Linked DNA regions of Homo sapiens: regions 1, 2 and 3 are each linked to region 4. The links are contacts of gene promoters, found by promoter capture Hi-C in blood cells and fetal thymus (Javierre and others, 2016). All regions are on one chromosome and are shown on one strand. The core of a region is centred on a gene start or on the middle of the fragment in contact, and the rest is flanking DNA. Distances in the headings are between cores, read along the strand shown. Region 1 overlaps CYP51A1 (cytochrome P450 family 51 subfamily A member 1). Region 2 overlaps LRRD1 (leucine rich repeats and death domain containing 1). Region 3 has its middle 9.2 kb from the start of MIR1285-1. Region 4 holds the start of ERVW-1 (endogenous retrovirus group W member 1, envelope).

Region 1 (7,088 bases), core at 1,219-3,718, 350 kb before region 4:
CTTAAATCAAGCCTTCTAAAAAAAACTCCTACTCTGTTTCATTTACAAGACTGTTAATCTGTTATTGAGGATCAACTGAAACCATGTGTACAGAAGAGAAGATGTTGGGGCTTAACTGTATGAATACAGTCGAACCAGGAAAACATAGGCCTGTTTAAGAAAGTGAATTGAATAATCTGGTTAAATTAGTTGGTATGAGTAGAAGAAAGAAAGACTGGGCCAGAATGTGAAGGGCCTAACATAGCAAGCTCTGACTTCATCCAAGAGACAGAGCAGGTAGAAACAGGCAGGTAGAAATGTACATTTATGGGCCAGGTGCAGTGGCTCACGCCTGTAATCCCAGCACTATGGGAGGCCGAGGCGGGCGGATCACAAGGTCGGGAGATCAAGACCATCCTGGCTAACACGGTGAAACCCCATCTCTACTAAAAGTACAAAACAATTAGCCAGGCTTGGTGGCGGGTGCCTGTAGTCCCAGCTACTCGGGAGGCTGAGGCAGGAGAATGGCGTGAACCTGGGAAGCAGAGCTTGCAGTGAGCCGAGCTCATGCCACTGCACTCCAGCCTGGGCGAGAGAGCAAGACTCCATCACCAAAAAAAAAAAAAAAAAAAAGAAATGCACATTTATGGAGAACCCACTATGAGTCCAGGGCTGTGCTGGGTGTTCTAATATAAGATATATGAAAACATTTTGAAACTGCAAAGCTCCTTGCAAATATAAGGTATGATGAGTTCCAGAGAACTTTAGGGAATCTCTCCTGGCTCTTCCTTTTACTCCCACCCCTCTTCCAATCTGTAACTAGATAGAGGGGGCAGAAATAGAAGAAAAGGGACTAGCAATCTATCTCCTCCCCATCTGTCACCTAAACACCAATAAATCAACAAAAGTACAGAAAGCCTACTAATATGCAAAACACTAAGCACTAAGCTATAGATCAAGTCCTAAGAGCAATATTTCTTTATATCAGAGGCAGTCCCTGTCCTTAAGAAACAGAAAATTAAATAAAGGCACAAATATTTAAAACAAAGAAACTTCACAATACAATAAAAAGCCACCAAAGATTTCAAACAAGTGCTAGAGAAGAGCTGTATCACTTTTAGGTATAGTTCAGAGACTTTCCTGAGGATAAGGAATACGTGAGGTAAGCAGGCTTTTAAACTAGGCTGGGCTCAGTGGCTCACGCCTGTAATCCTAACACTTTGGGAGGCTGAGGCAGGTGGATCACCTGAGGTCAGGAGTTTGAAACCAGCCTGGCCAACATGATGAAACCCTGTCTCTACTAAAAATAGAAAAATTAGTTGGGCATGGTGGCACGTGCCTGTAGTCCCAGCTCTCAGGAGGATGAGGCAGGAGAATTGCTTGAACACAGGAGGCAGAGACTGCAGTGAGCCGAGATCACACCACTGCACTACAGCTGGGGCAACAGAGCAAGACTCCATCTCAAAAACAAAAACATAAATAAAATATTAGACTAGACAGACAACAAATCACCTTTTTAATAAACTGAAACTTACTTTAAATGAGCTCATTATATAAAGAAAATTTGTCTTGAATTCTTATAGAAGAAAGGGGATTCATAATCTTACCCATTTTGTATGTTTTACTTGTTTAATTTTTATCTTTGTTAAGGCAAAGCATACCAACACTACAATAATTATACAAAGTTAAATAACCTAGTGTAATATATTCTTTATCCATACCTGAAACTAGGCAAAGGCAGCCAACCTGGTAAGAGCCAGGCTGCATGGCTGAAACCTCCATCCAAATCTGCATACAGCTGTGCTACCTTTTCATTGAGTTGACTTCTGATTTCCTTTCCATGCAAACAATGGCTAGCTGTTAAAATTATGAGCTCAGAAAGAGCTTCAAACACATCTAGGGAGAAAAAAAAGATTATTCTCATTACTATTTCCAAAAAGTGAAAGAAAATTGAGAATTAAAAACAGAACTCAAGAAGAAACAAGATCCTATTCATATCATCAAAAAAAGTCTGTAGACAGACATGTGACTATGTACAACAACAAAGAGGGGCAATAAACCAAACAATGTGAAGCACCCTGTCCCTCTAAACAGCCAAAACAGATCCCAGAAACACATCTCAAAACCCCACTCATGAGCACTTCATCATGAAAAGAATAAATGTGGTTATTTGATTTCCAGGTCACAATAACAAAAGCAGAAAAAAGGTTATTTATAGTGCATATGACAATAATAAGGTACTTCCCAAGGAATAGTAGCCAAAGATCAGATTATTTCCCAGGTTAAAAGTAGGAAGATCAGGGCCAAAATGGAATTACTGGCGATATGTAAAAGAAAACTATAATCACCAATTAGTATATCCCAACACTGGAGACAAATGCACCAGGCAAGCATAATTTGATGACAACTAATAAAAATTATCCAATTAATTTCCTGTTAATTCCACATTCACTAAATGAACTTCCAATGATCATCTGGCTTTCCAATTATATTTGTCAATAAAAAGAATATCAGTAAATATTCTGGATTTCTTGGTGCTGTAATTATATGTCTCACATGCATTATTACATTGGCATTCTAATTTATACATCAGTTTCTTGTATGGTTAGAAAATATATCAATATCAACTTAAGTATACCAAAAACAAAGATTCTGGAACTCTTACAGAGGCCAAAGGCCAGACCCAGAATATAGTGACCTGCTGCCCTGGGTCCTGCTGCCCTGTGGGCAGATGTTGCTTCCTACTATGGGCACAGCAATTGCTTCTGAAGGCAATACTTAACTTGCAGCCCAGTATAAAAACTGGATTCTCAGTTACAACTTCATGGTAATCATTACATAACCCTCCCATAAATCTAAGGTAGTTTTACATACACTGTAATTTGTTTTTTATATACTACACACATATATACTCTACTTTTCTATTCACAGAGAAGTAGAAATGTTAGGACAAACATAAAACATTTTGCTTACTTTTTTCTCCACTTTCTCCCCAACTCTCAAAGTATTCCTTTGTTTCTTTTTCAATTATAGAAACATGCTGTTTAAAGTGGGCTATGTTAAGGCCACTTTTTAACATTTTCTTCTGCTCCAAGAAAACCTTCAAAAAAATTCAAAACGGGGATACGGCATTAAAACACATTTTTGTTTTATCATAAAATCCATTTAGGTTATTATAATTATGTAACACTAACACAAGTAATGGTTTTAACCCTTTGGGCATTTACATTTTAAGAGTCTAAATGAATAGATCTATCTGACTCTAAATGAATAGAGTCTAAATGAATATATATATCTGAACAGAGGGATTTTCCAGGGCCCTGTTTTTTGGCCTTAAGGAGAGGCATTCATTCCCTCATTCCCCATCACTAGAAACAAGATTTAATGTTAACTCTTAACTGCTATACTAGGGTACTGGCTAATGTGTGTTACATTCACAGCCAGAGCCCATACCAAGCATTGGGGCCAATTGTCTGATTTGTGTTCTATATCAACTTAAAACAATTTCGTATTTGGCTTTTGAGGGTAAAACATACACATAGATGTACCCCACACGTGAAGTTGTTGCATTAAAAGAGGACTTCTGAAGTCAGCAATCTCTAAACAGCGCTTATGTTAGAATTTCAGGCAGGAATGGGTAGGCAGGAAGTCCTTTTGATGAAGTAACAGCATTGTCTAATAACCCTTTCAAATTAAATCCCAGTATGCTAAGTTATCATTGATTCCATTATTTGTACAGGAAGCCCTTTAATATTGTTTAGCCATGACAGCAAATATAAAACTAAATACCCATTACTTATCAGTTATCCATGGCCTTTCTTCTCATGATTCTTCAGACTTTTGAACCAAGGAATAAACTGGTTCTACATTTTATTACATTTTTGTTTGGTTGGTTTCTGTGTGTGTGTGTGTGTGTGTGTGTGTGCGCGTGCGTGTGTGTGTGTGTGTTTGGTTTTTTGTTTCTGTTTTTGAGACAGGGTCTCACTCTGTTGCCAAGGCTAAAGTGCAGTGTTGTGATCTCGGCTCACTGCAACCTCCGCCTCCTGGGTTCAAGCGATTCTCATGCCTCAGCCTCCCAAGTAGCTGGAATTTACAGGTGTGCACCACCAGCCCCACCCAGCTAATTTTTGTATTTTTAGTAGAGACAGGGTTTCACCATGTTGGCCAGGCTGGTCTTGAACTCCTGACTTTGAGTGATCCACCCACCTTGGCCTCCCAAAGTGCTGGGATTACAGGAATGAGCCACCATGCCTGGCTGTTTCTACATTTTAAATGTATAATGTCTCACTATTAGCTATAACTACTGAGGTATAGATTTGTCTTTATTTATGGTAACAGTGTCACCTACTGGATTAGGCACATCGTATGCAACTCCCTTCCCAAACACAGGTGTTGTCAGGCGACTGTAGACATCTTCTGCATTCAGGTCTTCATTTTTACTATTAAAAAGCAGTGCAGCAGCATCACTCCCCAGAAGGTAAGTAAATGTCTTGCCTACCATGGTAAAACTAAATACAGGTCCATACTAAAAAGAGAAAAGTACATATAGTGATGTTACAAAAAATATGCAACACTACGACAGTAACTTTTTAAAATCACAAAATAATGCATTATTAAAAAAATAAAAACATATATAAACCTTAAAGCAATTCTTTTCATCTTGCCATACTCCTCCTTCCTTTGTCCAAATTTATAATTATGTTCATTTAGTTGCAAATGTAGTATAAATATAACTGTTTATTATGCTTTTTTCAGTTTATATTGACAATGTTTTCTATTGTCTATATAAACATCACAATGTTAATTTACTGACTACTCTTTCATTATTGGACATATGGGTGATATGTCAGGGTTTTCTTTAGTTATTACAGCTAATTCTGTGATGAACACCTCTGAAAATATAGACTTCTTCCCCCTTTGGTTAAAAACAAATTTTACAAGACTAGCCAAAGAATTTGACCTTTTCTATAGTACCTGCTATGTGAAGACACTACAAGTTTATTTATCTATTTTAGCACTATCTCACCTACACTAAATGACTTCATTTTTTATTTTATATTAATTTGGTTAGATGTTAAATACTTTCCCTTGCAGTTTTCTGGTTATGATTGAAGACTAGACTCTGGGGGTATAATCATGAAAAAAAATACTGTCCCAACTCACCAAGCTTAGTCTATTGGAAAAAATACAAATTAATCAAATAATCACATTAACAAACATAAAACTGCAAATGTGACAAGTATTACAGAAAGGAAAGCAACTCTGTGATGAGAGAATCTAAAAAAGGGAGACCTAATAGAGGAAAAGACAACTAGGTTGAGACCAGAAGAATGAGGAGCTGGTTTGGTAGCTAAACATACACAAAGGCCCTAAAAGTAAGAGAAAGAGAAAGGAGGAGATGAGAGTTGAGCATTAGGCAGTGCTAGACCATACAGAGCCTCATAAGCCATTTTGAGGAAGTTTTTAAACGGGTGACAAGAATTTTTCAGAGAAAAAGGAAAGATGCCATTGAAAAAGAAGTCAACAATACACTGAGAAAACAAATAAAAGTAAAAAGTTCCTGAGACAAAAGAGGGATGGAGAGTTCAGCCTCCGATAAGAGGCAAAATATAGTTGTAATAAAATCAAAGTGGTAGAACGCAGTGAGCCAGACTGTCCGTGTTCAAATCCCAGCTCCTCCACCTACTTGCTGTATGACTTTGGTCCTATAGTCAGAGAACTTAGTCTCTCTGTGTTTCGTTTCTCTCACCTATAAAATGGTAATAATAATAATAGCAGTTCTTCACAGAGCTGCTGCCAAATTTTATATACAGGGCAGAGAAGAGTACCTTGGCTTACTTAGCATCTTAATGACTTGTTTTCCATTATTGTTATCATTAATAAAAGTATAGGCTCAGAAATCAGACCATGTGTAAATCCTGGCTTGGCCACTGTCTAGCAGTGAGTCCAAGAAGAAATTATATATCCTCTCTGCTTCTCAGTTTTGTCATCTATAAAACAAATATACCTGAAAGGGTTTTTGTGGAGCTTCAGTGAGATGATCTTTGTAAAGCACTAAGTACTGGCATAAAGTAAGTGTTTGATAATTATTACTGTGATAGGAAGAAAGAGAATAGGATTACTATATAAATACAAGTAGGTTTGCATATTTGAAATTGAGAAAATGAGGAAGTTTTCTTTGAATGTTTTAATAATTGTCTCCTAAATCAACGTTTTTAATCATTGTCTCCTAAACAGGAGAAAAAATCATCTGCTTTGATGGAGAGGTAGAAAGATTCAGAAGTTTAGAAAAGTGAAGGTTTGAATTAGTCACTGTAATGAGTGGAAAAGTAGGCCCAATCACAAGAACATAATAGGACTGTGGAGCAGTGTTCAAATATCATTAAGGTAGGCAATCATAAAATCAGGAAGAAACTAATCTGGTGCAGAAGGAGACAATAACTGGCTGCCTCCAAGGGTGACTTCTGCCAGCTGAACACAATGAAAAGATGCGGGGTCGAGGAAATTTAAAGTACAGTATTGCCAAGAGTGTAACAGAAACGACATGCCATGGACCCAAAGCGGAAAGAGGAAAGTGAAGAATGAAGGCTGATGGATCAGGAGAAAGTAAATGGAATGCAAGATCCAATGAGGTCAAAGAATAGTTATAATTTAAGGAGTTGCACAAGCAAACCAGGAGACGGTATGGTCTACGAATAGGATATCTAAATTAATATTGTGGAAGTGAAACAGTTAAGAGTGACAAGTCCAAAGCGAGACTGTGAAGTAAATGGCTTAACTGGCACAGGGAAGCTCATTAGAGAGAAGACGGGCAAATAATTGAGTAGCTATGGTGTCATGTGGGTCATTCAAGTGGACAGTGAAATCACAGAAGATGTATAGAGCAGGTTAGAAAACCCCACAGATGCATGGTAAAGAAAAATGAGGGTTAATTAATATCAATTTTAATGACAATAAGTGAATAGAAAACTCAGAACAGTGGCTTTTAAACCATAGTTGCCAGAACTACAGGTTTCCTCAATGGTGTCTCAAAGACGACCCCAGGACATGGGAAAAGCTAAAAGGATAGGTATCTATAAGACACCATCTCTTAAACCAGAGCAGTTTCC
Region 2 (6,909 bases), core at 671-3,170, 320 kb before region 4:
CCTTTTAATATTTTTTCACTTTTTTTTTTTTGCAAAACAATATTTTTCTATGTTCTTATCTAGAAGTTTTGTAGTTTTAGCTTTTACATTTAGGTCTGTGATTCATTTTGAGGTAATATTTTTATATAGTGTGTAGGATCAAAATTATATTGTGGTTATTTATTTGTTTTTGTTTTATTTTGTTTTGTTTTGGCTTTTGGACATCCAGTTGATCCAGCAATATTTGTTGAAAATAATGTTCTTTCTCTGTTGGATTACAGTAGTTCCTCCTTATCCATGGGAGATACCTTCCAAGACCCCCCAGCTGATGCCTACAAACCAAATACAGTATCAAACATGATTGCTGTCAATCAGATCACATCTGTTCATGTCTTTCACCCACAAATTTAATGCCTTTTCCTTCTTAACTGAGCACTTATCATGCACTGTGGCTGTAATTTTGTAGTTTGAGGTGCAACAGCAAAATTAGCACAAATTTCTTTTTCTGTCTTCACAATTTCATCGATAGAATATTCGTCCTTAGCGTAGATCTTAGCAACCTCATCATATGATTCTTTTCTTTCCAAGTTGAGAACTCTCACCTTTTCACTTAAAGGAAGCACTTTAAGGCTTCTCTATGGTGTATCCAAATTGCCAGCATCACTACTCTTGTGCTTTAGGGCCATTAATAAGTAAAATAAGGGTTACATGAACACAAGCACTGTGATACTGTGACAGTGGATCTGATAACTGAGACTGCTACTAAGTGACTGACAGGCAGGGAGCACATGCAGTGAATGGATTCACAACCCAGGTAGGACAGTGCAAGATTTCATCACACTGCTCAGAAAAGTGCACAATTTTAAATTTATGAATTGTTTATTTCTGGAATTTCCCAGTTAATATTTTCAGACCACTGTTGATCATGAGTAAAACCATGGAAGTGAAACTGTGAATAAGGGGGAACTACCATGGCAAAAATCAGTTGACCACATAGTGGTCAGTCAGGGTTCTCTAGAGGGACAGGACTACCATATAGTGGGTGTATTAGTCAGGGTTCTCCAGAGGGACAGGACTAATAGGATAGATATATATATATAAAAGGGAGTTTATTAAGGAGTATTGACTCACATAACCACAAGGTGAAGTCCTGCAATGGGCCATCTGCAAGCTGAGGCACAAGGAAGCAAGTCCAAGTCCCGAAACCTCAAAAGTAGGGAAGCCAATAGTGCAGCCTTCAGTCTGTGGCCAAAGGCCCAAAGGCCCTAGAGCCCCTGGCAAACCAGTGGTGTAAGTCCAAGAGTGCAAAAGCTGAAGAACTTGGAGTCCAGTGTTTGAGGGCAGGAAGCATCCAGCATGGGAGATAGATGGAGGCCAGAAGACACAGCCAGTCTAGTCCTTCCACGTACTTCTGCCTGCTTTATTCTAGCCAAGGTGGCAGCTGATTAGATTGTGCCCACCCAGATTGAGGGTGGGTCTGCCTCTCCCAGTCCACTGACTCAGATGTTAATCTCCTTTGGGAACACCCTCACAGACACATGCAGGAACAATACTTTGCATCCTGCAATCCAATCAAGTTGACACTCAATATTAACCATAATTGTGGATCTATTTCTAGACTCTCTATTCTGTCCCATTGATCCTTATGTCTGTTGTTTTGCCAATACTATCACTGTCTTCATGACTATAGTTTTGCATAAGTCTTGAAATCAGGTTGTGTGAATCATCCAACTTTGTTTTTCTTCTTCAAAATTGTTTCAGCTATTCTAGTTCCTTTGACTTTTTATATACATTTTAGAATTACCTCATTGTTTTCTGAAACAAAAAACTCTGCTAGGATTTTGTTGGAATTGAGTTGAATTTAAAGATAAGTTTTGGGAAAACTGACATATTAACAATATTGTCTTCCAATTTATAAACACTATATATCTCTCTACTTATTTAGGTTTATTTAGTTTTATCTATGTTACAGTTTTCAGCATATAGATCTTATATGTAATTTGTTAGATTTATTTATGGTTTTGGTACCATTTTAAATTGTACTTTTAAAGAAATCAATTTCCAATCATTTCTTGCTAGTCTGTAGACATATGATTGATTTTTGTATATTAACTCTGTATACGGCAATCTTGCTAAACTTACTTGTTCTGTAGATCCTTTGGGATTTTTGACCTAGACAACGTGTCTCTGTTATCAGAAATAATTTTTTCTTCTTCCTTCACAATCTATTTACTTTTTATTTCTTTTTCTTGTGTTGTTGTGCTAGTTGGGATTCCAGTTATAACGTCAAAAAGAAGTGGTGAGAAAGGAGAACTTTACTTTAATCCTGATCATAGTGGAAAATAAATCGTTTACCATGGAGTGTGATATTAGCTATAGGAGTTTTGCAGATGTATTTTTTCAAGTTGAGGAAATTCTCTTCTATTTCTAGCTTGCTGAGAGTTTTTTTGTTGTTGTTTGTTTTTGAAAATCTTGAATGGAAATTGTATTTTTTCATATGATATTTGCTTTTTTTTTTTTTTTTTTTGAGATGAGGTCTTGTTTTGTTGCCCAGGCTGGAATGCAGTGGCACAATCATAACTTACTGCAGCCTCAAACTCCTGGGCTCAAGCAATCCTCCTGCCTATGTCTCCCAAGTAGCTGGGATTACAAGCATAAACCACCACATCTGCTTGCTTTGCTTTTTATACTTACAGTGAGAAGTTCACATGGCTTTTCATAAGCCTGTTCAGATGGTGAATTACATGGATTAGTTTTTGAATATTGACTCAACCTTGCATTCCCAGGGTAAATCCCACTTGGTCACAATATGATATCATTTTTTATATTGATGGATTTAATTTGCTTTAATTCATTAAGGAATTTTGCATCGATGTTCAAGCAGGATGTTATTCTGTAAGTTTCCAAGTAATGTCTTTGTCTTATTATGGTATTAGGATAATGCTGGCCTCAGAATGAACTGAGACATGTTGTATCCTCAATTTTATGACAGAATTTTTTAAATTGGCATTGTTTCTCCTTCCTTCCTTCCTTCCTTTCTTCTTTCTTTTCTTTCCTTCATTCTTTCAGACAGAGTCTCACTCTGTCGCCCAGGCTGGAGTGCAGTGGCACAATCTCAGCTCATTGCAACCCCCGCCTCCTGGGTCTAAGCGATTCTCCTGCCTCAGCCTCCTGAGTAGTTTTGATTTTGATTACAGGTGTGCCCCACCACACCTGACTAATTTTTTTTTTTTTAAGTAGAGCCGGGGTTTCACCATATTGGCCAGGCTGGCATCAAACTCCTGACCTCAAGCAATCCGCCCCCCTCGGCCTCCCAAAGTGCTGGAATTACAGGCATGAGCCACCATGCCCGGCCTAACTTAATGATTTCTTCTTTGAAATACTTGAAAGAATTCACCAGTGAATCCTTTTTGAAATTGGCATTGTTTCTTCTATAAAATACTTTATAGAATTCACCAGTGAAGTTATCTGAGCTAGAAATTTTCTTTGTATGAGAGCTTTTAACTACAAATTCAATTACTCAAATAGAATTAGGGCTATCTGTTAGCCCACAATGATATCTACCTCCTGTTACCCCCTTGTGTAGTCCCCTCCCACATTATACCAAGGTTGGTCTGTGTGATCAATAGAATAGAGCAGAAGTGATGTTATGTCACTTCCAAGATTAGGCATTTAAAGACACTGCTGGCTGGGCATGGTGGCTCACCCCTATAATCCCAGCACTTTGGGAGGCTGAGGCAGGTGGATCACCTGAGCCTAGAGAGGTCAAGGCTGCAGTGAGCCATGATCTTGCCACTGTGCTCCAGCTTGGGCAACAGAGTGAGACCCTGTCTCAAAATAAATAAATAAATAAACAAACAGATAAATATATATGTGTATATATGTGTATATATGTATATATGTGTACATATATGTGCATATATATGTGTGTATGTGTGTATATATATATATAATCAACGCAGTATTTGTTGTACTTTGGGAAATCTTTTCTGATATCTTTAGAGTGAGTGGTTTATTTTCTTATCTACAATGTCATTTTTATTTTGTTTTGGTTATTGTAATGCTTTACCTTGTAAATGACTCCATGTAAGGTATTAGAGTATTATAGGGTATAGGAGAAGTATCAGGGGAGCCAACAGAGAAGGAAACGCAGAAAAAATGCTGACCTGAGGTTGTGTAGGTGTGTGTAGAGGAAGAGGTGAGGTTGGGTTCAGAAAGGGAAGAAATACTAAATGACTGGGTATAGGCAGAGAAGAGAGAAAATAAATGAAAATATGTTCAGGCTCTCCTACTCTTTCAAGGCAGGAACTGGACCTTATACTTTGCTTTCATTTTCTGTACCTAGGACAGTCATTTCCTTCTAATGGTGACTTAATACCTTATGTTGACTCTTTGCCATTCTGTATCTTGTCAGCAAAATTTGCAACTCAGACATTAATACTCTACTTATTGATTATGCTTACTGATTATGCTTGACACTCACCACTCAGGTTTAGTTGCTGCAGATCATTTAAAGATAGCAAAGATGGTGGAAGATAACTTATTTGATTATTGTATGCATGTAAACTAACCAAATTTCTCAATTCTCCTATATTTCTTGGAATCTCTCTGATTGCATTATTTGAGATATCAAGTTCTTTAAGTTGAGTCATATTAGATAGCTCTCCTGGAAGTCTTGTTAGCTGTAACAAAGATTACACAATTATACATTTATAAATACATACATATTTGCATGACTAAAACTTCTTCTAAAATCAAATGAAAGAGTTTTGTCTGTTTTTGTTTTTGTCTTAAAAAGGAGATTTTTTATTATGTCACAAATTCTTTGTGACTGACTCTCCCTTCTGACTAAAACCCACAAGATATTGTGCGACATCCAAGTACCTCCCCAATCTGACCAATGCTTCTAATTCAACCCTGTGGCTTGCAACCCACTTTGCTCACATTCCCATCACTCAGTGTTCATTACCTCCTTATCCCATTCTCTTCTCCCTAAATCTGACCCTGTTTTGGCTTCTTTCCCGCCCCCCTCCCAGAAGTCTTTTCCAACTACTCCATCCCACATTTGATCTCCTTATTACTAGTCCTATCAACATTGCTTTTTTTTTTTTTTTTTTGAGACGGAGATCTCGGTCTGTCACCCAGGCTGGAGGGCAATGGCATGATCTCAGCTCACTGCAACCTCTGCCTACCGGGTTCAAGCAATTCTCCTGCCTCAGCCTTTTGAGTACCTGGGATCACAGGTGCCCAGCACCACGCCCAGCTAATTTTTGTATTTTTAGTAGAATGGGGTTTTGCCATGTTGGCCAAGCTGGTTTCGAACTCCTGACATCAGGCGATCCTCCCACCTTGGCCTCCCAAAGTGCTGGGATTAAGGGCATGAGCTACCTCACCAGGCCCCATTGCTTTTTATTCATCATTTGTGTGCGTTTTTTTAGATTTTCTAAATGACATGATACACATGTTTTATACTTTTTGTATGTGTTTCCAAGCACAAAATGCATTTTGACCAAATGTTTAATAATGGAGTCACAGTTTGGCAATGTGACCTTAAATAAAAATTCCTACTATAAAAAGTGTTGCAAAATTGCAGGAATTAAAATATTCTGTTAAGATGAAGAAGAAATATGCATATTTAGAGAAAATAGGGCCATTATGAGTGGCTTTTGAAATAAAGGAAGTTCTATGAACAAAACAATTTTGAATGTATAGGCACCTCTAATAGCTAAACAACAAGGTACATTCTGCATGTTGTGCTATATGTTCTTCCAGGTATAAAGGAAGCATAAGAAATAGTCTCCAACTTCACGGAGATTAAATTTTATTTTAGGGAACAGAATATATCCTATGAAAAAATCAGGAAATGGAATGAAGCAATAGGTAATCCAATGCCAAAATAATACAATTAATAACTGATGAATGAAAGTTTAGAAAAGGTACATTACTACAAATCAGAGAACTAAAGTAAAGCTTCATGTAAAAAGTAGAACTTGAATAGCCTCTTAAGAATGAATAGGCGGCTGGGCTCGGTGGCTCACACCTGTAATCCCAGCACTTTGGGAGGCCAAGGTGGGTGGATCACAGGAATTCAAGACCAGCCGACCAACATGGTGAAACCCCGTCTCTACTGAAAACACAAAAATTAGCTGGACGTGGAGGTGAGTGCCTGTAATCCCAGCTACTCAGGAGCCTGAGGCAGGAGAATCACTTGAACCTGGGAGGCAGAGGTTGCAGTGAGCTGAGATCGCACCACTGTCCTCCAGCCTGAGCGACAGAGTGAGACTCTGTCTCAAAAACAAAAACAAAAACAAAGAATGAATAGAATTAGAAAAAAGTTACAGGACACTTAAGGCAAGATAAATATCATGAATAACAATGGCCAGTGAGAAGCTGACCAGCAAAGAAAGGTGATGCAAAGCAGAGGGAGATTTGTTTGGATAAGGAGCATGGAACCAGGCTATGGCAAGACTTGAGAGCCTGGCCTATGAAGTAGGAGTCAGATCAAAACAGATAGGTGGGTTCAGTTTTATTTGGCATTCATTGAAACAAATATTCTTTAATTACCTTCTCAACATTTACTAGAGGTGGTGTCTGAGAGCTGTATGATGATGGAATTCATATAGAAGGAAGGTTCCTTTTGGGCATCCTTCCTTTAATAAAATAAAAGCCCTGTGATTAATCTGACTTTTCTTCAGATAAGTGACCATCTGCTATTATATAAGTTAATTATTTGGGCATTTCATTTCCACCCCAAGGGGGTTATCAAGTGATATTTTCAACTACATGGGATATTCTTTTTGACAGGAGTTCTTGTAAATCATTTTTTCCATTTGATGACCTTTGCAATGATGTTGCAAATATGTGGACTGTTGCCTTGGGCAGCCATTCACTTTGAGTAGACAACAGATACGCAATTTGGATTCCTGACAG
Region 3 (7,164 bases), core at 2,342-4,841, 280 kb before region 4:
AGATTTTAAAAATTTGTCGTTTACCCAAAATCATTCAAGAGCAAGTTGTTTTATTTCCATGTTGTCATATGGTATTGAGAGATCTTCTTGGTAGTGATTTCTATTTTTATTCCACTGTGATCTGAGAGTATGGTTTAGTATAATTTTAACTTTTTTGAATTTATTGAGACTTGCTTTACAGTTGAGCATTTGGTTGACCCTGGAGTATGTTCCATGTCCACATGAGAAAAATATGTATTCTGTGGTTGATGGGTGAATTACTCTGTAGATATCTAGTAGGTCTAAGTGTTGAATTTAAGTCCAGAATTTCTTTGTTTTCTGCCTTGATGATCTGTCCAGCACTCTCAATGGGGTGAAGTCCCCCACTATTATTGTGTGACTAAGTCTTTTTGTAGGTCTAGAAGTACTTGTTTTATGAACCTGGGTGCTCAAATGTTGGGTGTGTATGTATTTACAATAGTTCAGTCTTGTTGTTGAACTGAACACTTTGCCATTATGTAGTGCCCTTCTTCGTCCTTTTTCACTGTAGTTGGTTTAGTCTTTTATCTGATATAAAAATAGTGACCTCTGTTCTTTTTTGTTTTCTGTTTGTGTGACAGATCTTTCTCCAACCTTTTACTTTGAGCCTATGGGTGTCGTCATGTTTGAGATGGGTCTCTTGAAGACAGCAGATGGATGGGTCTTGTTTTTTTAATCCAACTTGCCAGTCGATAACTTTTTTTTTTTTTTTTTTTTTGAGACAGAGTTTTGCTCTGTCGCTCAGGCTGGAGTGCAGTAGCGTGATCTTGGCTCACCACAACCTCTGCCTCCCAGGTTCAAGAGATTCTCCTGCCTCAGCCTCCCAAGCAGCTGAGATAACAGGTGCACGCCACCACACCCAGGTAATTTTTGTATTTTTAGTAGAGATGGGGTTCACCATGTTGGCCAGGCTGGTCTCAAACTCCTGACCTCAGGTGATCCACCCACCTCCCAAAGTGCTGGGATTACAAGGCATGAGCCACTGTGCCCAGCCTCATTCTGCGGACTTTTAAGTGGGGGTGTTTAGACCATTTGCATTCCAGGTTAATATTGTTACATGTGGTTTTGATCCTATTGCAAAGCTGTTAGCAGGTTGCTCTGTAGTTTCTATTGTGTAGTTGCTTAATAGGTCTATGGGCTATGTACTTAAATGTGTTTTTCGGTAGCATGCATTGTTCTTTCACTTCCATGTTTAGAACTCCCTTGAGGATCTCTGGTAAGGCTGGTATAGTGGTAAAGAATGCCCTTTGTGCTTGCTTGTCTGGAAAAGATTTTATTTCTCCTTCGCTTATGAAGCTTAGTTTGGCAGGATATATTATTACTATTATTGAAACAGAGTCTCATTCTGTCACCCAGGCTGGAGTGCAGTGGCATGATCTTGGCTCACTGCAACCTCTGCCTCCCAGGTTCATGTGATTCTTATGCCTCAGCCTCATGAGTAGTTGGGATTACAGATGTGCACCACTATGCCCAGCTAATTTGTGTATTTTTAATAGAAAAGGGGTTTCACCATGTTAGCCAGGATGGTCTCAAACTCCTGGTCTCATGTGATCTGCCAGCCTCAGCCTCCCAAAGTGCTGGTATAATGGGCATGAGCCACTGCATCCAGCTATATTATTTTAAACTACACAATTTTGTTCCATTTTTTAGGGCGCTGTTAGAAAACTGTCATTTTTTCCTTGCTGAATTGTAATGCATACAATTTACTCCCTAGGCAAGTAGGGAAAAATATCAGTAAAGCACAGCAAATGAGAAAGTGGGGGCAGCAAGCTCATTCTCAGGTGGTCCTCAATGTGGGATCATCAAAAGAATGGGAGTAAACATTTTTGAGGCTGGGCGCAGCAGTTCACACTTGTAATCCCAGCACTTTGGGAGGCTGAGGTGGGCAGATCACTTGAGGCAAGGAGTTTGAGACCAGCCTGGCCAACACTGTGAAACCCTGCCTCTAATAAAAATACAAAAATTAGCCAGATGTGGTGGTGCTCGGTTGTAATTCCAGCTACTAGGGAGGCTGAGATGGGAGGATCACTGGAATCCGGGAGGTGAAAGTTGCAGTGAGCCGAGATAGTGCCACGGCACTCCAGCCTGGGTGACGGAGTGAGACTCTCTCAAAAACAAAAACATTTTTGAGACTGCTTTCCAGGGCTGGCCAAAATATATTCCCATATGTTGTCTCAGTCTTGTGCTATCATTCAATTTTATTAACATAATCAGTTTTTATTATTCCATATAATTTTAACTAATTTAATAAGCTTCTGTTTTACATTTTTGTTAGGAAAATTTATATTTCCCCATTTCTAAAATTCATTTGCATTTCCAAGCATACAACTTCTCTGTTAATCTTCTTTGACCACTCACTAAATGGATTTTGGGTACAGACATATTTCTAGTTAAATCTTAATTTTTGGCTGGGCAAGGTAGCTCATGCCTGTAATTCCAGCACTTTGGGAGGCCGAGGTGGGTGGATCACCTGAGGTCAGGAGTTCGAGACCAGGCTGACCAACATGGTGAAACCCTGTCTCTCCTAAAAATACAAAAAGTAGCTGGGCATGGTGGCCCATGCCTGTAATCCCAGCTACTTTGGAGGCTGAGGCAGGGGAATCACTTAAACCCGGGAAGCAGAGGTTGCAGTGAGCCGAGATCGTGCCATTGCACTCCAGCCTGGGCAACAAGAGTGAAACTCTGTCTCAAAAAAACAAAACAAAACAAAACAAAAAAAACTTAATATAGTTTTGAATTTTCAGAACTTGGTTAGCAAGTGCTGATTCTTTAAGTGTATTTTGAAATTTGTCCAGTAAAATTTCCTTTGATAATCAGTTCTGTGAATTTTGACAAATATACTATGTCAATCATAATCAGAACATCCTCTCCCCTACCACCAAATTTCTCCATGCTGCCCCTTTATATTCCCATATTCCCCCCACACCTATCCTTAACCTTTGGTAACCACTATCTGCTTTCTGGTCCTACAGTTTTGCCTTTTCCAGAATGTTATCCAAATGGAATGTTACGGTATACAGTATAACCTTTTGAGTCTGGCTTCTTTCAGTTAGCATAATGCATTTGAGCTTTATCCATGTTGTTCATCAATAGTTTCTTTTCATTGTTGAGTGGTATGCCATTATATGGATGTACCTGAGTTTATTCATTCACTCAGTGAAGGATATTTGGGTTGCTCCCAGTTTAATTATGAAAAAATTAAAGATGTATTCTACAAACATTTGCATATGAATTGTGTGAATATAAGTTTTAGCTGCTTAGATAAATAATTGGGAGTGGAATGCCGGGTCCTATAGTATATTTAACTTACAAGAAACGAAACTGTTTTCCAAAATGGTTGTTCCATTTTGCATTCCTACTAGCCATGTATGAGCTCCAGGTCCTCATTCTTTTGCTTTGCTTTTGATGTTTGTTCATGTACATTTAAAAAGCATTTTATTCACCTATCCCTCATACGCATTTAAGAAACATCCATAAGCGAATGTGCTCTGACACTAAAATATGCTGGTCTGCTTTTCCCTAGCAATATTAAATGTTATTTTAATATTTAAATTTTGCCCATATAAAATCTATTGGATACACATATGGAGAATAGTGCCAAGCTATTTCTTTTCTATACTGATATTCACTTAACAGGATGCTTTGTGGATTGTCCTAAGTTTGCCCATTTCTCAAGTGTTGTCATTCTTTTGCTTGCTTCTCACTGTGCTCTCTTCCTGGGTGGCTTCAAATCTATTCGTGGAGTTTCAATTGTCATCTCCTGAGAGCCTTTTGAACTTCAGGCCTGGGAACCCTATTGTCTATTGACCATCTCCATCTATGTGTCCCTTGGGAGCCAGGAACTCAAAACATTTCTTCAAAACTTCCTCCCCTATTCCCTATTTTAGGCAGTATATGGTACCATTTTCCCATATGTCCAGGACAGAAAGAGGATAATTACTCATTACTCCTACCTCTTCCTTATTTCCCATATCTAAAAGGTCACTGGGTTTTGTCAAAATATTTTCTCCCATTGCCATTATCTTAGCTTAAGTCCAGATTGCATTATACCTTCTTGCTCAGAACCACCTCTTTAAGCCCTTCTGTACATTGACCCAGGGTGATCTTTCAACACACACATCTGAGCTAATCAAGTCCTAAGGGCTCCAATGGCTCCTCATAAACAGGAAACACAACACCCTTCAAAACTTGATCATTTTTGTTTAACCACTCCACCTATATCTCCTTTACCTGACAAATGTCTGAATTCAGAAGCCAGACTGCCAGATGTTGAATTCTGACACCCCAACTTACTAGTTTTTGACCTTACACAAATAACATAGCCTCTCTGTATACAACTGTGTTCAAAGTTATACAATATACAAAAATGAAAACATTTACATCACTCTGTTAGAAACTATGGCTCCTAAGATTTTAAAGATAGAAAACAAGTATTATTTTATGTTTTTATTATAACCATACATGATGTATCTGACTGACTTATACTCTGGAGTTTGGCTGCCGAGGTATGAATCTGAGCTCCACCACTCATTGGTTTGGAAAGTAATTTAAACCAACTTCAATTTTCTTATCTGTAAAATGGGAATAATAGTATCTGCCTCATAGTGATTGTTGTCAGGAATAAATGAATTAATATCCCAAAAGTGCTTCAAATAATGCCAATAGTGTAGTAAGTGTCACTTAAAGTAGTAGCTATTATTATAATTTAAATAATGGGGACATAAGTTCCTAATTTCCCACCCATGTGGGTGCCCTTCCAATGAATCCTGAACAACCTGGTACTTCCTTTTATCACAGAAATTAGCACAATGTATTGAAACTGTTTTTCTCATCTACACCCTAAGATGTCTGAAAGATATTCTTTGTCTTAAATACTCTGGCCTCGAAGATCCCCAAAAGCTTGATGCTTCTGCTTTAGGGCCTTTACAGTCTGCCTATGTCTCCCTCTCCAAACACCATAAATAATTCTAGAGGTTTTCTGACGTGCTTATGAATACAAACATCAAATGAGAATCATACCATCATAGATGGATTTTTGGTGAGAAAATATTTTCTTGCATGCACTCAATCCTATCTCTCTCTGTGTCTCTATCCATCTATTCTCACACGCATTCAAGCCTATCTGGTCTATCATCTAATCCTTGCATGCATGCAAGTCTACCTAATCTATCATCTACCTACCAACCTACCTACCTAGAGTCGGGGGCTTGCTCAGTCACGCAGCCTGGAGAACAATGGTGCAATTATAGCTCACTGCAGCCACAAACCCCTGTGCCCAAGAAATCCTCCCACCTCAGCCTCCTGAGTAGCTGGGACTACAGATGTACACCACCACTCCTGGCTATTTTTTATTTTTGTAGAGATGGAGATCTTGCTATGTTGCCTAGGCTGGTGTGGTCTTGAACTCCTGGCCTCAAGTGATTCTCCCACTTTGGCCTTCCAAAGCGCTGGGATTACAGCGTGAGTAACCATGTCCAGCCTCAAGCCAATTAAGTGTCTTAATCAGTTTTCTACACAGTGCAGCAAAAACAAATTATGCTTTGACAGAAATTATTTTCACTGAGAGCATTGTTTTCTATGTTAATGATAAGGCAACAAATTGATTCCCCAATCCGTTTTTTGCACATATAAATTCTTTTAGAGGGCCAGACACAGTGGCTTATGCCTGTATCCTAGCACTATGGGAGGCCGAGGAAGGTGGATCACCTGAGGTTAGGAGTTTGAGGCCAGCCTGGCCAACATGGTGAAACCCTGTCTCTACTAAAAATACAAAAATTAGCTGGGCATGGTGGCGCACGTCTGTAATCCCAGCTACTCAGGAGGCTGATGAGGCAGGATAATTGGTTGAACCCAGTGGGGCGGAGGTTGCAGTGAGCTGAGATCATGCCACCGCACTCCAGCCTGGGCGACAGAACAAGACTCTGTCTCAATCATTCAATCAATCAATAAATATTCTTTTAGAGTTTTTGCCATTGATTTCTCAGGATCAAATAAAAAAATCTAAATTTTATTAATGCAATTCCTCTATTAAGTTTGGTCAATAACCGGAAAGTTTTACTTTGTTGAATATTTCTATCAAGTCTAATTTTTCTAGGGTCAATTTTGGCAACTTTTTTCTTATTTTTTTTTCTTTTTTTGCCCATCATTGGCTAAATTTTGGCAATTTTTAATCTTGTGGTTCTTCAGTAAGTTTTCTCTAATACATTTATCATGTGCAGTATTAGCTATTCTGGTTTTATTTGTATAATGAAAATTAATTTGTTGTGATTTGGATAAACAATTACTTGAATTTGGATCACAACTGAAAATGAGTAATTGTAAATCCCCTCATCAGTTCTCCAGGTCTGTCTTTTGGGGTCAAAACATCTCACCTCATTTCCCTTCCAGCTGTACTGCCTTCACATAACTAATTCCTGCTCACATGTCAGATGCCAACTCAAGCATCACTTGCTCAGGAAAGCCTCTCCTGATCCCTACTAGATCAAGGGTCCCTGTTAATGCTGAGATGTTTTTCTTTCATCACAGTAATTAGAGTTACAATTACATATATCCATGATAATTTATTGTCTCCCTCAGACTTTGTTCTCTGAAAGCAGGGATTTTGTTTTCCTTACCACTGGGTCCCTGGCACATAAAAGGCACTCAAATTTACTGAAAGAATGATGAAAGGAAAATGGTATCTTATCTTGATCCCTACAGCACATATAATGCCTGATCAATACCAGGCATTCATTAAAAGCTGTTTAGATTTCCCTATTTTTATTTCTGGATTGTTATGGTCTGAAAGATAATGATCAATTTTTTTCTCAATAATAATTTTTAAAATTGAATTTTTAATGCTATATATTTTTAAGCCTTTAATAACTATGCTACTCTAATAGTCTCCTATTCCTTTCTTATTAGGGCTGCTATACTGTACATCTTCAGGAGGGTAAACTGTATTCCACAGAGCAGGAGGTTGTTTGATGTGGTATCACTGCATCCTCACCTCTCTCTGTGAAAGGAAACACATTCGGCTATCTCCTAAAGTTGCTTATAATTACAGTTCTAATTCCTAACTGTACATAGTAAGTACACAGAATACTTCAAGAACAGAAATGCTTGGGTCTCACTCTAAAATTACTGAATCAGAAAGTACTGAATTTC
Region 4 (6,732 bases), core at 167-2,666:
CCCTGGCTTTTAAAGGAATAGGGCACACTGTTTTTTACTATTTCTTTCTCTTTCTTTCTCTCTTTGACTCTCTCTCTCTCCTCTTTGTCTCTCTCTCTCTTCTGTCTCTCTCACTGTCTCTCTCTCCTCTCTGTCTCTCTCTCTTTCTCCTCCATTTCTCTCTCTCTCCTCTGTCTCTCTTTTCCCTCAGCCATTTACAAACTTGGGGCCCTGGCAAGGGTGGTGGGGAGTGGGTCCTACATAACTGCCCATGTCAAGAGCTGTATGCCTAAATTGGGAGGGACACCAGGGATAAGACTCCCTGGGTTATAGCCTAGGTGCCTAAGGACGCAGCGCAGAGCTTCCTTAGATCCCTTTGGAGATACAACTTGCTAGAGGAAATGGAAGTCTGAACCAATAGTACCTAGGAGGCAGGGATCAGAGGAAGTATATTCAGAGGTAAGGAGAATTTTGGGGCTACACTTTGAAGAAAGTTGTGGTTGGGACCCAGGAGGTATGGGTCAGAAGGAAAGATAGGGGTGCATGCATGGGCGACTGTTGAGACTTCTGGCTACACCATGATCTCAACCGGCTACTGCCGGGAGTTCAGGACGACAGCTTTCTGCCTCTAGTCGGCCCTCGGCTTCCCCAAGAAAACTGAAAGTGGAAGCTGGCTTGAGGCAAACCAAGTCCCCAACCCAGAAGGGTTGGGGGTTGTTAGAAAGCCCTTCCCCAGATAGCCTCACACCTGAGTCTTAAGTCCGGTGGCCACACTAATCGTTTTTAACTGGCCGACAAGTGCCCGGTATTTTCCTCCAATTCTAAGGAAGGATAGGACAGAATAGCAAGTGAAAGTGGTCCAATATTACTCACCACTTTGGATGTCCGTTCGTGGTTGCCAAAATGTTACCGGGGGGTCCTTGCTCACAGAGCTCCCAAGATGGTGGTGAACCACTTCCAAGATGGTAGCAGGCCGCTTCCAAGATGGTGGCAAGCCTCGTATTCTCTGACCTGGAGTTCTTGGCCTCACGGATTCCAAGGAATGGAATCTTGGGCCATGTGGTAAGTGTTATAGTTCTATTAGAAGCCGTGGGTCACAGAAGAGAACCATGGAACCCAGTGACTAGTGTTCAGCTCAATTAGAACAAACCCAGGCACTTAGCCGTGCAGGAACAATGGCAAGCCTTTAGCCCAATTGGGAGCGGCAATGGGCGCCTCGCTGGATCAGGAGCACAGCGGACACCCTGCAGGATCCAGAGGGATGGGAGTCAGCGGCAGGTCTGCGGTGGTGGCAAACAGCAGTGGTGGACGGTGAGCAAAAGCTCAGCTCGAGCCGTAAGAAACATGGACCAGAAGAGTGCAGTTGCAAGATTTAATAGAGTGAAATAGCATGAAAACAGCTCCCATACAAAGGGAAGGGACCCAAAGGGGGGCTGCTGTTGCCAGCTCGAATGCCTGGGTTTATATCCCGATTGTTGTCCCTCCTGCTGTGCTCTCAGGCAATAGATGATTGGCTATTTCTTTACCTCCTGTCTTTGCCTAATTAGCATTTTAGTGAGCTCTCTGATTGGTCAGGTGTGAGCTAAGTTGCAAGCCCCGTGTTTAAAGGTGGACGTGGTCACCTTCCCAGCTAGGCTTAGGGATTCTTAGTCGGCCTAGGAAATCCAGCTAGTCCTGTCTCTCAGTTGCAAGATAATTGCTGTATCTCCAGGCGTTTTGCCCTCATCCCAGAAAGGAAGCCCGCCCCAGGGACTTCTGTCTATGTTCACTGTCCAGAACTATGTCACATAGCCACAAATGACTGCAGTGAAGATCATGTGACTCAGTAATTCACTCTCCAGAGAGTATAGGAAGGCAAGAGAGGTGGTGTTGGAATGGATGTTGAATGAATTCATCTATAGGATATACCACAACGTCGGGAATAAGTGGCAGATGTTACAATCGAAATGGGCTGATTATAAGTGGGGATAAGTGGCTCGTGGGGTGGCAGAGGTCAGGCAGTTGCAATATGAGAGGCTAGGTGGATGCAGCTACCATAATCAGCAGTAAAGCCAGCATGTTAATTGCAGTGGTCTGACCTGCAGGGATCTTTGGTGCTGCCTAATTATGGTAATACATAAGTTATTAAGAAATAGTTTTTTGGCAGCTAGAAAGAGTAAAGGTTTTTGGAAATTTTCTTGTAATAAGAAGCAACCCTCACCCATTCCAAACCATTCCTTTTCTAACAGAAAAGACAGCTTAAAGAGCCAGGCCAGCAAACTTTGATATGCAAATGCAGGCTATTAAAAACTAGGTCCACCCAACATGGCCACCATGGCGATTCCCACCCTCTTCTTGTCAGCACATGTACCAAGTGTCATGGCCCCCTCCAGATAATTCATGTGTTTTCAGAACATCATGGCAACCCACATTTGCATATTAAAGGGCTGAGGTGGGAGGGCCAGGTTTTTTGCGGGGTACATGAATGATACACCTGGTCAACCCAATCCCCTGGGCCCTGTGCAAATCAGACACCGCCTCCTCCAGCCTCCCAGTATAATCAACCACTTTTCCACTGCACATGGGGTTTCCTTCTCTCGGCTTGGAGCCCCCTCCCTCTGTGTCTGTACAGGGGAGCCTCTTCCTTCTTTTTTGCGTATTAAACTCTCTGCTCCTTAAAACCACTCCATGTGTGTCCGTGTTGTTGTCACCCCCGTCCCTGTGAAGAGAGTCCACCAAACAGGCTTTGTGTGAGCAACAAGGCTGTTTATTTCACCTGGGTGCAGGCGGGCTGAGTCCAAAAAAGGAGTCAGCTAAGGGAGATGGGGTGGGGCCATTTTATAGGATTTGGGTGGGTAGTGGAGGGGCAGGGGTCACAAGGTGCTCAGTGGGGGAGGTTTTGAGCCAGGAGAAGGAATTTCCCAAGGTTAATTGCTCAGTTAAGGTGGGGCAGGAACAAATCACAGTGGTGGAATGTCATCGGTTAAGGCAGGAACAGGCCATTTTCACTTCTTTTGTGATTCTTCAGTTACTTCAGGCCATCTGGATGTATATGTGCAGGTCACAGGGGATATGATGGCTTGGGCTCAGAGGCCTGACATTGCTGTCTTCTTATATTAATAAGAAAAATAATGTAAAATAGTGTTGAAGTGTTGGGGCAGCAAAAATTTTGGGGGTGGTATGGAGAGATAATGGGCTATGTTTCTCAGGGCTGCTTCGAGAGGGATTATGGGCGGCATGGGAACCTAGAGTGGGAGAGATTAAGCTGAAGGAAGATTTTGTGGTAAGGGGCGATATTGTGGGGTTGTTAGAAGGAGCATTTATTGTATAGAACGATTGGTGATGGCCTGGATGCGGTTTTGTATGAATTGAAAAACTAAACGGAAGACACAAGGTCCGAATAAGAGAAGGAGAAAAACAGATATTAAAGGACTAAGATTTGGGAGGACCTAAGACATCCAATTAGAGAGTGCCCAAGGGGGTTCAGCATAATTACTAGCTTGGTTGCGAGTTTTTGGGCTCTATCCTCCTTTTTAAGTTGGAGGCTGAGTTTGGTGGGGTGTGTTTTTAAAAGACCATTAGTCCATTCTACCTTTCCTGAAGATTGAGGACAGTAAGGGGTACGAAGGTTCCACTGAATACCAAGAGCCTGAAAAACTGCTCAGGTGATTTGACTAATAAAGGCTGCTCCGTTATTGGACTGTATAGAGGTGGGAAGGCCAACCCAAGGAATTATGTCTGACAGAAGGGAAGAAATGACTGCAGTGGCCTTCTCAGACCCTGTGGGAAAGGCCTCTACCCATCCAGTGACAGTGTCTACCCAGACCAAGAGGTATTTTAGTTTCCTGACTCAGGGCATGTGAGTAAAGTCAATTTGCCAGTCCTGGGCAGGGGCAAATCCCCGAGCTTGATGTGTAGGGAGGGGAGGGGGCCTGAACAATCCCTGAGGGGTAGTAGAATAGCAGATGGAACACTGAGAAGTGATTTCCTTGAGGATATGTTTCCACGATGGAAGGAAATGAGAGGTTCTAAGAGGTGGACTAGTGGCTTGTAACCTACATGGAAGAGGTTATGAAATGATGACAGAATAGAATGGGCCTGTGAGGCTGGAAGGAGATATTTTCCTTGGTCTAAGAACCATTTGCCTTGTGTGAGAAGAGATTGATAGGCGGAAGTTTCAATGGGGGAGTAGGTGGGAATGACTGATGGGAAGGAGAAAAACTGGCCATGAGGGACAGAAGTTGGAACGCTAGGTGCTTCTTTAGCTACCTTATCAGCATAAGCATTTCCTAGAGTAATGGGATCTGACGCCTTTTGGTGGCCCTTGCAGTGTGTGACTCCAGCTTCCTTTGGAAGTAAAGCAGCCTTGAGAAGAGTTTTTATTAAAGAGGCATTAATGATGGAGGACCCTTGCGTAGTGAGGAAACCTCTTTCAGCCCATATAACAGCATGGTGGTGCAAGATATGGAAGGCATATTTAGAGTCAGTATAAATATTGACGTGTAGTCCCTTTGCAAGAGTGAAGGCCCGAGTTAAGGCAATCAGTTCGGCTTGCTGAGAGGTAGTGGAGGGGGGCAGAGCAGTAGCCTCAATGATGGATGTGGAAGATTCTATAGCATAGCCTGCCTTTGCTGGTGAGTGGCGATCAGGCCTGGTGGAACTGCCGTCAGTAAACCAAATGTGATCAACATGAGGAACAGAAAAGAAGGAAATATGGGGAAATGGGGTGAATGTCAGGTAGATCAGAGACATACAATCATCAGGGTCAGGTGTGGTATCCAGAATAATGTGGGAGGCCAGATTGAAGTCTGGGCCAGGAAGAATGGTAATTGTGGGAGACTCAACAAAGAGTGAATACAGCTGAAGGAGCCGGGGAGCAGAAAGTATATGCGTCAGGTGTGAGAAAGAAAATAGATTTTGGAAGTTGTGAGAGCTGTAGAGAGTGAGTTGAGCATAGTTTGTGATTTTGAGGGCCTCTAAAAGTATTAGGGCAGCGGAAGCTACCGCATGGAGACATGATGGCGAGCCTAAAACAGTAAGGTCAAGTTGTTTGGACAAAAAGGCTACAGGGCATGGTCCCGGTCCTTGTGTAAGAATTCCGACTGCACAGCCCTGCACTTCGGCTGTGTGTAATGAAAAGGGTTGGGATGAGACAGGGAGAGCTAGTGTGGGAGCAGTCTCTAAAGCTGTCTTCAAGGAATGGAAAGAGGAGTGGGGAAAGGATTTAGAATCTATGGGGTCAGCTAGGTTTCCTTTTGTGAGTTTATATAATGATTTTGTTAGGATGGCAAAACCAGGTATCCAAAGGCAAAAGTATCCAACCATGCCTAGGAGGGAAAGGAGTTGTTGTTTTGTAGAAGAGGTTGGGATTTGAGAGATCAGTTGGAGACGCAATTGGCAGGGAGAGCACATGTGTTTTCATGAAGAATTATGCCGAGGTATGTAACAGATGGAGAAGAAATTTGAGCTTTGGAGGGGGATACCCGATATCCTTTGGAGAACAAATGTTGAAGGAGCAGGAGGGTGTCTTGTTGAGAAGATTTAAAGGAGGGGCTACAAAGTAGAAGGTCATCAATATATTGAATAAGGTGAGAAGCAGAGAGGTGGAAAGAAAGTAAATCATGAGAAAGAGCTTGGCTGAAGTAATGAGGGCTGTCCCTGAAGCCTTGCGGCAGTACAGCCCAGGTAAGCTGCTGGGACTGATGGGTGTCAGGGTCAGTCCAGGTAAAAGCAAAGAGAGGCTGGGATGAGGGGTGCAGGGGAATAGTGAAAAAAGCATCTTTAAGATCAAGAACGGAATAGTGAGTTGTGGGGGAAGGCATTGAGGACAAAAGAGTGTACGAGTTGGGTGCTACAGGGTGGATAGGCAAAACAATTTGGTTGATAAGGTGCAGATTCTGAACTAACCTGTAAGACTTATCTGGTTTTTAGACAGGTAAAATGGGGGAATTGTATGGAGAGTTTATAGGTTTTAGAAGCCCGTGCTGTAGCAGGCAAGTGATAACAGGCTTCAATCCCTTTAAAGCCTGTTGTGGTATGGGATACTGGCATTGAGCAGGGTAAGGGTGATTAGGTTTTAATGGGATAGTAATGGGCGTGTGATCGGTTGCCAGGGAGGGAGTAGAGGTGTCCCATACTTGTGGGTTAAGGTGGGGGGATATGAGAGGAAGATATGAAGGAGGCTTTGGGTTGGGAAGAAGGGCGGCAAGGAGATGTGGCTGTAGCCCAGGAATAGTCGGGGAAGCAGATAATTTGGTTAAAATGTCTCGGCCTAATAAGGGAACTGGGCAGGTGAGGATAACTGAAAAAGAGTGCATAAAAGAATGTTGTCCAAGTTGGCACCAGAGTGGGGGAGTTTTAAGGGGTTTTGAAGCTTGGCCGTCAATACCCACAACAGTTATGGGGGAAAGGGAAACAGGCCCTTGAAAAGAAGGTGATGTGGAGTGGGTAGCCCCTGTATCGATTAAACAGGGGATGGACTTAGCCTCCACTGTGAGAGTTACCTGAAGCTCAGTATCCGTGATGGTCCAGGGGACTTCTGAAGTGATCGGGCAGTGTCAGTCTTCAGCTGCTAAGCCGAGAAGATCTGGGAAGGAGTCAGTCAGAGAGCCTTGGGCCAGAGTTCCAGGGGCTCTGGGATTGGCTGCCGGGTGAGTTGGACAGTCCGATTTCCAGTGGGGTCCTGCACAAATGGGACGTGGCTTAGGAGGAATCCTGGGCTGCAGGCATTCCTTGGCCCAATGGTCAGATTTCCGGCACTTGAAGCAAGATCCT

The links. The method cuts DNA at HindIII sites, captures the fragments that hold promoters and counts their contacts. A CHiCAGO score of 5 or more calls a contact.
Region 1: a contact is called between a fragment that was not itself captured here and the fragment with the promoter of ERVW-1 in region 4, in 2 of 17 cell types (M2 macrophages and erythroblasts). The highest score is 6.3, in M2 macrophages.
Region 2: a contact is called between a fragment that was not itself captured here and the fragment with the promoter of ERVW-1 in region 4, in 1 of 17 cell types (erythroblasts). The highest score is 5.5, in erythroblasts.
Region 3: a fragment that was not itself captured here is called in contact with the fragment with the promoter of ERVW-1 in region 4 in 3 of 17 cell types (M2 macrophages, erythroblasts and M1 macrophages); the score reaches 5.8 in M2 macrophages.

What each region holds. Positions count from the first base shown.
Region 1 is chr7:92,124,553-92,131,640 of GRCh38, forward strand. It overlaps CYP51A1 (cytochrome P450 family 51 subfamily A member 1), which reads right to left. Exons shown (of 10, transcript NM_000786.4): 3 at 4,328-4,504; 4 at 2,953-3,079; 5 at 1,701-1,875. Among named protein-coding and RNA genes, the nearest start is that of CYP51A1, 6.4 kb to the right of the region's middle. The HindIII fragment of the contact is 5,351 bases long and covers 1-5,144 here.
Region 2 is chr7:92,154,543-92,161,451 of GRCh38, forward strand. It overlaps LRRD1 (leucine rich repeats and death domain containing 1), which reads right to left. Exons shown (of 6, transcript NM_001161528.2): 3 at 4,463-4,661. All of the region lies in intron 1 of CYP51A1-AS1 (CYP51A1 antisense RNA 1), which reads left to right. Among named protein-coding and RNA genes, the nearest start is that of LRRD1, 21 kb to the right of the region's middle. RefSeq lists a silencer at 4,334-4,383. The HindIII fragment of the contact is 8,053 bases long and covers 1-5,947 here.
Region 3 is chr7:92,191,333-92,198,496 of GRCh38, forward strand. No RefSeq gene overlaps it. Among named protein-coding and RNA genes, the nearest start is that of MIR1285-1, 9.2 kb to the right of the region's middle. The HindIII fragment of the contact is 2,647 bases long and covers 2,269-4,915 here.
Region 4 is chr7:92,476,530-92,483,261 of GRCh38, forward strand. ERVW-1 (endogenous retrovirus group W member 1, envelope) reads right to left here and starts at 1,417. Exons shown (of 2, transcript NM_001130925.2): 1 at 853-1,417. It also overlaps a transcript of GATAD1 not described here. RefSeq lists enhancers at 101-602, 740-1,659, 1,637-1,781, 1,671-2,101, 1,699-1,730 and 1 more, promoters at 1,307-1,639, 1,346-1,706 and cis regulatory regions at 1,731-1,792, 1,793-2,101. The HindIII fragment of the contact is 16,290 bases long and covers 1-6,329 here.